Regions from separate parts of the Homo sapiens genome. Here regions 1, 2 and 4 are each linked to region 3. The links are contacts of gene promoters, found by promoter capture Hi-C in blood cells and fetal thymus (Javierre and others, 2016). All regions are on one chromosome and are shown on one strand. The core of a region is centred on a gene start or on the middle of the fragment in contact, and the rest is flanking DNA. Distances in the headings are between cores, read along the strand shown.

The links. Contacts are between HindIII fragments. The CHiCAGO score rates a contact against its expected background, and 5 or more counts as called.
Region 1: a contact is called between a fragment that was not itself captured here and the fragment with the promoter of NKX3-2 in region 3, in 5 of 17 cell types (activated CD4 T cells, M0 macrophages, non-activated CD4 T cells and 2 more). The highest score is 10.4, in activated CD4 T cells.
Region 2: a fragment that was not itself captured here is called in contact with the fragment with the promoter of NKX3-2 in region 3 in 2 of 17 cell types (M1 macrophages and total CD4 T cells); the score reaches 7.1 in M1 macrophages.
Region 4: a contact is called between a fragment that was not itself captured here and the fragment with the promoter of NKX3-2 in region 3, in 3 of 17 cell types (M1 macrophages, endothelial precursors and M0 macrophages). The highest score is 11.1, in M1 macrophages.

Annotation. Positions count from the first base shown.
Region 1 is chr4:12,715,750-12,718,673 of GRCh38, forward strand. The region is part of intron 2 of LOC107986181 (a long non-coding RNA gene); the gene reads left to right. Among named protein-coding and RNA genes, the nearest start is that of LINC02270, 490 kb to the left of the region's middle. The HindIII fragment of the contact is 746 bases long and covers 1,007-1,752 here.
Region 2 is chr4:12,736,413-12,739,568 of GRCh38, forward strand. No RefSeq gene overlaps it. Among named protein-coding and RNA genes, the nearest start is that of LINC02270, 510 kb to the left of the region's middle. The HindIII fragment of the contact is 6,284 bases long and covers 1-3,156 here.
Region 3 is chr4:13,543,084-13,545,968 of GRCh38, forward strand. NKX3-2 (NK3 homeobox 2) reads right to left here and starts at 1,425. Exons shown (of 2, transcript NM_001189.4): 1 at 866-1,425. The coding sequence starts at 1,331. The HindIII fragment of the contact is 11,352 bases long and covers 172-2,885 here.
Region 4 is chr4:12,858,248-12,861,446 of GRCh38, forward strand. No RefSeq gene overlaps it. Among named protein-coding and RNA genes, the nearest start is that of RAB28, 620 kb to the right of the region's middle. The HindIII fragment of the contact is 976 bases long and covers 1,347-2,322 here.

The sequences.
Region 1 (2,924 bases), core at 130-2,629, 830 kb before region 3:
AACAACACTTCACCAACATTTGGCTTTAGCCAACTCCTATATAAAGGCCATTTTTTAGTAGTAGCCATTCTGACTGGTGTGATATGGTATCTCATTGTGGTTTTGATTTGCCTCTCTCTAATGATCAGTGATGTTGAGCTTTTTATTCATATAACTGTTGGCTGTATGTATGTCTGCTTTTGAAAAGTGTGTGTTTATGTCCTTTACCCACTCAAAAAGTAACAGATGCTTGCAAGGTTATGGAGAAAAAGGAACCCTTATACGCTGTTGGTGGAAGTGTAAATTAGTTCAACCATTGTGGAAGACAGTGTGGCAATTCCTCAAAGACCTAAAGACAGAAATAACATTCAACCCAGCAATCCCATTACTAGGATTGTCATGGGATTACTTGCTAAATATCCCTATCCAAACTGGTAATCCATTACTGGGTATACAAATACAAAGGAATAAAAATAATTCTATTATAAAGACGCATGCATATGTTCATTACAGCACTTATTTACAATAGCAAAGACATGGAATCAACCTAAATGTCCATTAATGATAGACTGGACAAAGAAAATGTGGCACATACACACCATGGAATACTATTGCAGCCATAAAAAAGAACAAGATCATATACTTTGCAGGAACATGGATGGAGCTGGAGGCCATTATCTTTAGCAAACTAATGCAGGATCAGAAAAGCAAATACCACATGTTCTTATAAGTGGGAGCTAAATGATGAGAACACATGGACACACAGAGGGGAACAACACACACTGGGACCTTTCAGAGAGTGGAGGATGGGAGGAGGGAGAGAATCAGGACAACCAACTAATGGGTACTAGGCTTAATACCTGAGTGATGAAATAATCTGTACAACCCTCATGACACAAGTTTACATATGTAACAAACCTGCACTTAAACCCCTGAACTTAAAATAAAAGTTAAAACAAGAAATAAAGAAAAGTCAATTTTTAAAATTTATAAGCTAAGAGCTTTCTTTCTAAGACTTTAAACGTTAAGCTTCCTATAACCTAACATATTTTACTTAACATATTTTAAATAGAGGTAAACTTGTAATTTTGAGTATTTGAGTTTCATTTGACTCATCCACCTAACTCACGGCTATGGAATAAAACTCAAAATAAGATAGTCTAATACCACACAAAAGGAATATTGTTTCAATTCAGTTCTACACTCATGTATTTATTGATTTGTGGGAATGGGAAGAAACTTTGATCCCACACTTGGAAGTGCCCCCACTTTGAGATCCTGCTGCATTATATATTTCATAATAGCTCTTTTGATATGACTTACTGTTCCTACTGGATTGTAACTACTTAAGGGCAAGGGCGAGGTCTAATCCTTAAGTGCCTTGTAAAGTACTTGGCCTGTGGTAGGTGTCTTTGAGCCACTAGTGTTTCTGAATGAACAAATTGATTTGGCAACCTGAGACACAGAATGACATTTCTGAATCATAAGTCTAACATTTATTAGCCAGGTAACCTTGATCAATGTATATATGTGATCTTTTTATTTGTGTGTGTATGTGTATGTGTCATATACAACACGTATGAGTTTTTAAAATGTCCATTTTTTCAAGAACAATAATTAAGAGTCAGACATTGTGAAGCATTCTTGCACTGAAACACAACTTGTTATTCACTTTCTCATGCAAACGCCATTTATCAGTAGTGGCCATCTCTCCCAAGGAATTACTTGCCCAATATCCCTACCCAAAACATATGGCTTTGGATATATTTAAGAAGCTTCATTTTCCTTGCTATCTTTGTCTGCACGTTTTTTATTGTCATCTGAGTGTTAACAGGTTTCTGGGAATCAATAGACGCTTTGCAAAGGCATTTTCTAGACCTCAAGGACTGGTACATCTTATAATTTGCTTCTTTGCTTATGCTATTCCTTTTCTTCCCAGTTGCACCTCTTCAGAGAGCTAGTGGCATTTCAACGAATGCTTGTCATTGGGAATAACTTCCCACTTTCAAAGGATATAATAATGCTGCAAAACATTACATATTTCTTTCTTGCTTATTTATACAACAAATATATCTTCAGTGTCTATTGCCAGTAAAGCCCCAAGAGTCAGGAAAACTAGGAAGCCTCAGTTAAAACCATCACCTTCACAGAGCCCATAATTATTTAGGAGAGCAACAGAGATCAATAAAGAGAGAATTGCAACATGGTGTGATAAAGAAATATCTTTATCTGTCTGTGAAGACATTATGGGATTACAAAAGAGTGGGACCATATCCAAGAGGTACGGAAACGATCTTGGAAGCCTTCCACAAGAAACTGTATTAGAACTAAACCGCAGAGATAAATCTGGGTTTGGGAGCAGATGGGAGGATAGATCCCTTAATGTACCCTCATTCATTTAATCAATATTGGCTTGGAACCTAGTCTGTGTCATATGCTATACAAAGTATCAAAAACATGACTTTGAATAAGAGAATCTACCTTCTTCTCAGCCGTCAAAGATCCTATTGCCTAGTAGTCAAGTGTTAGGGTATGAGTAACACAAGTCATGTTCAGAACACATAGCAGAGTTGGATGTGGGCAGGGTGGGCTTGGGGATGCAGCTCTGTGTGGGCTCCAAGTGGCTCAGATGCCAGACAAGGAGTGAGAAGAGAGGAAGACAGCAGCACTCACGGCAGATCCCAGAAGCTCTCCTTTGTCAGGCCAGGAAAACCGGGAGACAAAGAAACCAACCACTTCGTTTTCATTCATCGCAACAAATACTTAAATAGCACCTTGATGTGGTTTGGATGTGTGTCCCCACCAAAATCTCATGTTCAATTGCAATCCCTAATTTTGGAAGTGGGGCCTGGTGGGAGGTTATTGAATCATGGGGGCAGGTTTCTCAAGAATGGTTTAGCACCATCCTCTTGGTACTGTTCTCACAATAGTAAGTGAGTTCTCAT
Region 2 (3,156 bases), core at 302-2,801, 810 kb before region 3:
AACAATATTTTAAGTGATTTATTAAAATAAATACCATGTCAAATTCACTTTTTACAGTAAATATTACAGGTGGCTGCATATAAAATTAATATATACAATAGTTTCTCTAGAAAAAATCTGATGCAAGACAACAAAATAACCACAACAGCAAAAGAATAATTACCTATAGATAAATTTTTATAGAAATTTAGCAGGATCGAGATGAGAAAATACTTAATAAACTACTAAGAGAGACCCATAACAAGACTAAAATAAACAAAAAAGCATACTTGTGTTTGGATAAAAAGACTCAATATCATAGAGTTTCAATTCTTTCTAAATCTATAAATTTAATGCAATAACAATAAAAAAGTATATTTTTTAGAACTAGGCAATAATAAATCTAAGTTTCATGTGGAAAAACAAATAAACAAGAATGATAATAAATGTACTGTTGCATTTCCCTGAAGTGCTTTTCTAAGCATTACAGATGTATTAAATGATACACTTTCATCAATAACATTATTTTATTCCCATATTTATATATGATGACTTCAACAAACAGAGAGGTTAAATAACTTGTACAGGTTTATACAGTTAGTACATGGCAAAGGCTGTATTTGAACCCAAACATTCTGTCTTCAGAGTCCAGAAGTTTAACTAACATACCTCATTCTAAAAGAACCAGGAATATTTGGCCAGGTGTGGTGGCATGCCCCTGTAGTTCTAGCTACTTGGGAGGCTGAGGTGAAAGGATCACTTGAGCCCAGGGAAGTTGAGTCTGCACTGAGCTGTGATTATTCCACTGCACTCCAGCTTGGGTGACAGAAGGAGATTCTTTCTCAAACAACAACAACCAGAAATATTCTGGGTGGAAGGGAGAGTGATACAGTGGACAGGTCCTATATAATATTAAATATCACAGAGCTTATTAAGAGTAATAATGACACATGTATATGCAGACACAAATCAATGGAAGAGCATCCAGAGAGAAATTCAAACATATATGAGAGCTTAGAATATGAAAATATGTCCTTTTTTTTTTAGAAAAAATAAAGAAAAAAAGAGTATGAAAATGTAACATTGTACATCAGTAGAATAAAGAGATCCTGTTCCATAGATGATAGTGGAATAAACTGGAATAAATATCAAATTATGTCCCCATCCTACTCCTTTCATCACAATAAGCTCTATATGGTTTGATGATTTCAGCTGTGTGTGAGTGTGTGTGTGTGTGTATACTCACACACACACATATATATGGGCAGATGGTAAATAGAAATTTAAAAATGGCTCTTATATACCTGAAAATATGCTCAGTACTACTTGTTATATGCAAAAAGCAAATTAAAACAACAATGCATGAGATGGTTTGGCTCCGTGTCCCCACCCAAATCTCATCTCAAATTGTAATGCCCATGTGTTGAGGGAGGGACTTAGTGGCGAGGTGATTGGATTATGGGGGCAGTTTCTCCCATACTGTTCTTGTGATAATGAATGAATTTTCATGAGATCTGATGGTTTAAAAGTGTGTGGCAGTTCCCCCTTCACTCTCTTTCTCTCCTGCCACCATGTAAGACATGCCTTGCTTCCCCTTCACCTTCTGCCACAATTGTAAGTTTCCTGAGGCCTCCCCAGCCATGCAGAACTGTGAGTCAATTAAACCTCTTTCCTTTATAAATTACCCAGTCTCAGGTAGTTCTTTATTTCAGTATGAAAAGGAACGAATACAATGCAATACCATTTTTGATGTAGCTTGGCAAAGATCAAAAAGTTTGAGAACACACACTGTTGGTAAGGGAAAAAATATACTTGTACATTGTTAGTGGAAATTTAAATTGGTTCAAACTATATGGGATTTTGCAGTAGCTACCAAAATTTAGATGCACGTACCATTTGATTCAGCTATTTGGCTTGCAGAAATGTGTCCTCTACATACCCTGACATTTGTGGACAAAGACATTTATATATACATGGATATTAAGGCCATTATTGTCTATAATATCACACTATTGAGCCTAATGTAAATGTGCATTAATAGAATACTGGTTAAATAGATTATGGCATATTTGTACAATAATTGGCTAAGCAGCCATTCAAAAGGGTGAGGCACTTCCATATGAATAAATATGGAAGGAGATCACGACACAGTGTTAAGCGGAAAAGGCAAATCAAAGACAAAGAATAAAATATATCAGAATTTCTCTAAAATAATACATAAGGGGAGAAGAAAAAGTAAGAGGTAAAATCGCTTTTTAATAGAATTTGCTGCTGTTGTTTTATTATTTTATTATTTTATGTTGTACTTAAAGATAGAATTGAATTACTCATAACTCTAAGTTCAAGCCATATTATTATTATTGCTTCACACACTGCCATCTTTTCCATTTTGTAATTTGTATTATTTGTTTTTAATAATTTATTTGAAATATAATGAACACTGCTAGGCCAACCACATAACCCAGAAAAATTACTAATAATACAAATAACCTCTAAAACCTTAATTAAAATTTGCATCTATTTGCGATTTACATCATTTGGACTTTGAACTATGCACAGACATTACATACCTAAAAAATAACTTTGAGGATAATATGATCATAAAATAATAGAAAATGTTGAAAATATCAACTTCTACTAAGGAATAATGGGTTGTATTCACATCTCAACTAATAACAGGAGTTTTAAAATTTATGTTTGTTAAAAGCAAACAAAGGAATATATGTGAGTTTTTAAAAATTTATGTTATCTGAGCCTCTTCTGTTTACCATATTCTTAAAAAAATTTCCTGAGAGGCCAGGCATAGTGGGTCACACCTGAAATCCCAGCACTTTGGGAGGCCAAGGTGGGTGGATCGCTTGAGCTCAGAAGGTTCAGACAAGCCTGTGCAACATGGCAAAACCCTGTCTCTACAAAAAATACAAAAATTAGCTGGCCATGGTGGCACATGCCTATAATCCTAGCTACTCAGGAGGCTGAAGCAGGAGGATCACTTGAGCCCAGGAAGCAAAGGTTGCAGTGAGCTTAGATCTCTCCACTGCACTCTAGTCTGGGCGACACAGTGAGACATTGTCTCAAAAAATAAAAATTAAAAAAACTGAAAGAAAAATTCCTGTGATAGAGTTCACTATTAACTTTTTGCTAATTTTGTTTACGTGTAAGGTAAAGTGCATAAAT
Region 3 (2,885 bases), core at 175-2,674:
GCTGAGCCGAGGCCTTAGATGAGAGGATGGACTGGAGAGTAAAGAGGGAGGGTTGCCCCTGCATCGAGTTTTTGGACCCTGATCCCACACCAGCTTCTCGGTCTCGTACCCGCCCTTCCGAAGAACTCCAGCAGAAAGGTCCAGCGGTCCCCTGTGCTTGAGGCCTACAGAAGCTTGTACCCAACTAGGGCAGGCACCCGGGTCTTCCAGACCACAGGACAGGACAGGCCACGGCTGAGGAGGCCTCTCTCCTGCCTCCAGGATGAACTAAAGACCCAATCCGGGATCTTCGGCCTAGGGCTGCTCTCCCAGACCTGGGGTCTGAGAAAGCCAAACCAGCCCTTTCCCCAAAGCTCTAGTTCTGCAGATTCTCAGCTCTGGCCCACTCGGAGGTGTTCTTCACCACCTATCCACCTACTGTGGGGCCCGGCCCTGGGACCTTGAACTGGCAGGTCTCTGGTCCAGAGCTAGGTCACTGGCTACCTGAGGTCTCTGAACCCCTCACTTTTCCGCTTCCCTGATTTTGGGGATTTGGGGACAGACACGGCAGAAAGCACTGGCGACGAACTCAAAAACTCCCGAACGCAAGGGGCAGCGGTTCTCCCAACCCAGTCTAATGCACATTGGCCCAGGATGTCTCAGGCCTCACCCCAGGACGTAGGGCTCTGAGGAGCTACTCCGGTCTCTCGCGGGCTCAGTTCCCGAAGTGATAGAGCAGCTCGCGCCAGAGCGCAGAACTTCGGGATTTGGCCAGCCTCCGAGCCCCAGGGCGCAGGGTGCTCAAGCCGACCACCCCACTCGGCGTGGTTGCCCTCCGCGTCCATCCCCTCAGCCCGGCCCCCATCCCCGCGAAGCCGCAGCAGACCTGAGACGCTGGCGGACATCTCGCTGTCGCTCCGGCCCGCGGCTTCCTCCTCTAGGTCTTTGGAAGCGGCCAGCTCACAGACCGGCTGGCCGAGGCTCAAGGATCCCCCCGCAAGGCCGGCCCCGCTGGCCCCCCGCGCGTCCGCGCAGCGCCGCCTGCTCTCGTTCTCCTCGCTGAGCGCGGAGTCCGAGTCCCAGCCTTCCGGGCTCTCCGCAGTCCGCCCCGCAGCTGTTCTGGTACCGGCAGGAGACGCCAGCAGAGAGTCCTCGGCGCCCCCCAACGCGCCCGCGTCCCTCTCCCCAAAGAGCCGCCAACAGCAGACAGCGGGAGCCGCGGCCACCGATGCCGCTGTGCCCCCGGGCGCCGGGCGCCCCTCTGGCGCGGCCAGCCCGCCGCGCTCCTCTTTCTTGTTGAGGATCGCCTGGATGGAGAAGGACGTCAAGGTGTTGGCGCCGCGCACAGCCATCTGCGCCGCGGGCAGGAGCGGCCGGCGGGGCGGGCAGCTGGGGCGCCGAGCAGCTCCGAGCGGGACAGAGAGCGCCGGCGGCCGCAGCGCGAGTGAGCTGGGTGTGCGAGGCCGCCGCCGCCCACTGCTGCGCGGCCCAGCAGCTCCCGCCCCACTCCGTCCCAGGATCAGCGCCGACCCTCGCCCCCACCTTAGAGGCCCACCCCGCCCGGAGACCCCCTCCCCCCGAATCCAGAGCCAGACGCTCTCCTTTCGCAGCTCAGCTGGATTATCTCATCGCTTCTCGCCCTTAGGGGCGGGCTGGGGTCTGCCCCCTCGGGGGACGTGAAGGAGGATTGGCGGGGGCCCCTCCGTGGCAGCAGTCCCCTCCCGAGCGCCGCCGGGGCGCACAGCCCGAGTCACTTTTTCTTTGCGCGTCTGTCCCTTCCTCGCCTGCAGGATTTCGCTCCTGGCCCGTCCTCCCCTTCCCTGCTGGGCAGGCTCTTCCGGAGCCCACCCCCGGCGGCGGCGGCGGTAGCCGCGGCCGCGGCCGCTGGATTCCGAGAGGCGCGGGGAACTTTTTTACCCCCTGCCCTGGTTTTATCTGTTTCTTTTCTCTTTCCTTCCCTTGCGTTCCACTGTACCACCCCCCTCCCGCCCGGGTGTCATTCCTCACTGCTGAGTGACAGCCTGAGGCCACACCCCTCCACTGGGCTGTCCCGGGCGCTCCCGGCCGTCCATTGGCTGGCTCCAGTTGGGCGACGTTGACTTTAACAGACAAAACTGGGCACGTTGCGCCGCTAAAGACAGGGTCTGACTTAACCCCTTCTCTCCTAAGCCTGGTCCTCGAAGCACCCTCCAGCAACAAGGAGGCTCATCCGACCCAAACCACGTTTCTTACCTCTGCAGATGTATCCACTTATTCCAGCGCTTTAACAGAACACTGATACTAAGTTGAGTCAAATCTGCGGAGAAAATCCAAGATAATGCAGTTCCATAAATCATGCTCGTAGTTTCTGTTCTCTAGGAAGGATTATAAACACGAAGAACAAAATGCATCCTTTTTTTTCTCCCTACAGTTTCGCCGCTTCTTCATTGCTAATGCTCTTTGCTGAAATGATCAGTTAATTAAGATCACTCTAGAAATATTTTTCTTTCCTCGTCGTCTTTGATTTGATTCGATTTTTATAGAGGAATTATAAAAAAATGGTATAGTTAGAACTAAAGTCAGGAGAAGAATTGAAAGGCATCTTTGGGAGAATTTCTGTAAATTTTATGGTCGTTTCCCTGGCAGACCAATATTGAATTTAATTGGAGTTTGTTAAGTTTTGCATCAGGAAGAAAAAAAAAACTTTCAATTTGTTTTTTTTAAATATCTCTTACTTGTGAGTTGAATAAAATTATAAATAGATATGTTTGTTTGCTTAGAAGTATACCTAGGAATTACCATAAAGTGATCCAGAAGTGACAACACTTTTTGCTCTTTAAAAAATAAGAAATGCATTGTATTATGTAATAGTAGGAACCAAGCTAAGAAACACAAATATTGTGGGTATATAAAAACATTTTAAAATG
Region 4 (3,199 bases), core at 585-3,084, 680 kb before region 3:
ACGTAGATGAGCCTACTACACACTTAGGTTATATGATATAGCCTATTACTCCTAGGCTGCAAACCTTACAGCATGTTAGTATACTGAATATTGCAGTCAATTTTAACACAATGGTAAGTATTTGTGTATCTAAACATAGAAAATGTACAGTAAAAATTAGTATTATAATTTTATGGAGCCACAATTATATACATGGTCTGTCATGGACTAAAACATCATTTTGTAGCACATAACTCTAATTATAATATTGTATCCTATACAGGAAATTTGCTAAGACAGTGGACTTTAGACTATTTTAAGACCAAAAATGCATCATTATGCAAGATGATGGATATCTTAATTTGCTTAGCTATAGCAACTACTTCACTATTTATATTAAAACATAATGTTTTGCACCTAAGATGCATACAATATTTTTTAAATCTCATAAAATACTTAAAAGCATGCTGTTTAATTTTCTTTTCTTTTTTCTTTTTTTTTTTAATTGAAACGGAGTGTCACTCTGTCCCCATGCTGCAGTGCAGTGGTGCGATCTCGGCTCACTGCAACCTCCACCTCCCGGGTTCAAGCGATTCTCCTGCCTCAGCCTCCCGTGTAGCTGGGACTATAGGCACACACCAACATGCCCAGCTAATTTTTGTATTTTTAGTAGAGATGGGGTTTTGCCATGTTGGCCAGGATGGTCTCGATCTCTTGACCTTGTGATCCACCCACCTGGGCCTCCCAAAGTGCTGGGATTACAGGCATGTGCCACTGCACCCAGCCTATTTAATTTTCAAGTGTTTGAGAGTCTCCTGTAATCTTTGTTATTGATTTTAGTTTAATCTATTAGAATGAAAGAGTAACATTTGTATGATTTCAAGTGATTTTAATTTTTAAATTTGTTTTGTGACCTGGAATACATTCTATCTTGGTGAATGATCTCTGTCCACTTGAAGACAAGGATGTACATTCTTCGGTTGTTGGTTGATATGTAAAACGTCAGTGTGAAAACATCCAGCTTTGATGATGTTGTTCAGTTTTTCTATATCCTTGCAGACTCAGTATCCACTGAATCTATCAATTACTGAGAACGGAGGTTGAATTACTGAGAGCAGAGGTAATACATCTAAATATAATGGTGGATTTGTATACTTCTTTCAGTTCTGTCAAATTTTGTTTCATATGTTTTGAAATTCTATTGTCAGTACTTATTTTACACATTGAGGACTTTTATGGCTTCTTGAGAAATTGACCTTATCATTATGTTATGTCTCACTTTATCCCTATTGTTCTTTGCTCTGAAGTCTACTTTGTCTGATACTAATATAGCTAAATGTTAACGATAGTTTTCTTTTTAAAAGAAAAGCTTTGTTCTGAAAACAAAATTCTTTAACAGTTATTTTAGAGGAAGTCTGCTGGCAACAAATTCTCTTAGTTCTTCTTTATCTGAGACAGCTTTATTTCACTGTCATTTCTGCAGGAATTTTTCACTCGATGGAGTTTGACTGTGTTTTTCTTTAGGCCCTTTAAAAATGCTTTTTTTACTTCTTTCTGGCTACCATGGTTTCTGATGAGAAATCTACAGTCATTGAAATTGTTGCTCTCCTAAGTAATGCATCATTTTCTCTGTCGTCTTCAATATTTTTTCTTTACTTTCCAGCAGCTTGATTATAATGTCTCCAAGTGTGAATTTGTTTGTTTGTTTGTTCGTTTGTTTTCTGTTTGGAGTTTGTTCAACCTCTTAAATCTGTAAGTTTATGGGTTTTGTCAAATTTGAGAGGCTTTCTTACTATTATTTCTTCAAATATTTTCTCTGCACACTATTTTTCATCTCCTTCTGGGACTTCTTTGACATAAATGTTAGATTTTTATATCTTCCCATTAGTCTCCGAGACTCTGTTCCTTTTTCTCCATCTTTTCTCTCTGTGTTTTTCAAATTAAATAAATTCTAATGACATATTTCAAGTTCACTGACTTTTTCTCCTAGCATATTCATTCTGCTAGTAAGCCCCTTCTGTGATACTTTTACTTTGGTTAATGTGTTTTTCTGTTTTTAATTTCCAGTCATTTCTTCTTTATATCTTCTATTTGTTTTTGTTAAGACCTTCTACCTGCCCATTTATTTCAACAACGTTTACCTTAACCTACTGAAGCATTTTAAAAATAGCTATTTTGAGTCTGCCAGATAATTCAAACTAGCATTTGTTGATTTTCTGTTTCTCTCAAGTTAAGATTTTCCTGATACTTTATATATTGAGTAATGCTTGGATTGTGTTGTAGATATTTTGAGTATTACCTTATGAGATACTAAGTCTTGCTTAAACCATATGGATAATCTTAAGCTTTTAGTGTTAGTAGATCCATGCATGCACAGCTTGGGGTGTGTCCAGAAATTCACAAATAATTTTTAGGTGAATTTTTGGAAGTCCTTCCTCTCTGAAATCTCAAAATCTTCTCATTTCCTAGGACCCCTCTTTTTAGCCTACTATTCTAAAAGCTGATTTATTCACCGGAGTCTTCCATACTCCCCTTTGCTGTGCACAGGTCTGGGGTTAAGCTGTGGAGGACAGAAAAGGTAGGGGTGGGGGTATAGAAATAAGAGTTTTCTCCTCCCTCTTCAAAGCACAGCTTCTGTATCCAACAGGAAGCTTCTACTCAGAATTCTAGGTGTTTGTGAGAAGCTACAGGCTGAAATATAAGATATTTTGCAAATAAGCATTTACTGTATTCTCTCTGGCCATTAGGAAATCTGTCCTTACTACTCAAGCTGTAACGAGAGTACTTCTCTTGAGTTCTTTCATGTTCTGGGGTGGGTTGCACCAGGCCACGTGGATACCAAAGTAAAAAAGAATGAAAAACTCACTGCTGATTCAGTGATACATTGAATTTTGGCCTTCTTCGCCACCCCTCCTGCTACTAGTTATTTTTTAGAGTACTCAAAGTATCTTCTCCATTCACTCAGTCCAGGTTTTATAGCTGCTTTCCATGGAAAATCCAGGATGGAGTATTCTTACTTCATCCTTCCCATATCTGAATCCCCTGCATTGTGTTAATTATTCTAAAATCCAGAACATTCTTCTACGGGTAGGCTTCTCCAGCTCTTTCTTTTCCAAAATCTAATGAAATTAAATTATGCTGTTTCCCACATGATTGCTGTCCTGCAAAAATTGGTGCACACAGAATAAAATGTTAACGGAACTTCTTAGAATTGTGAAAC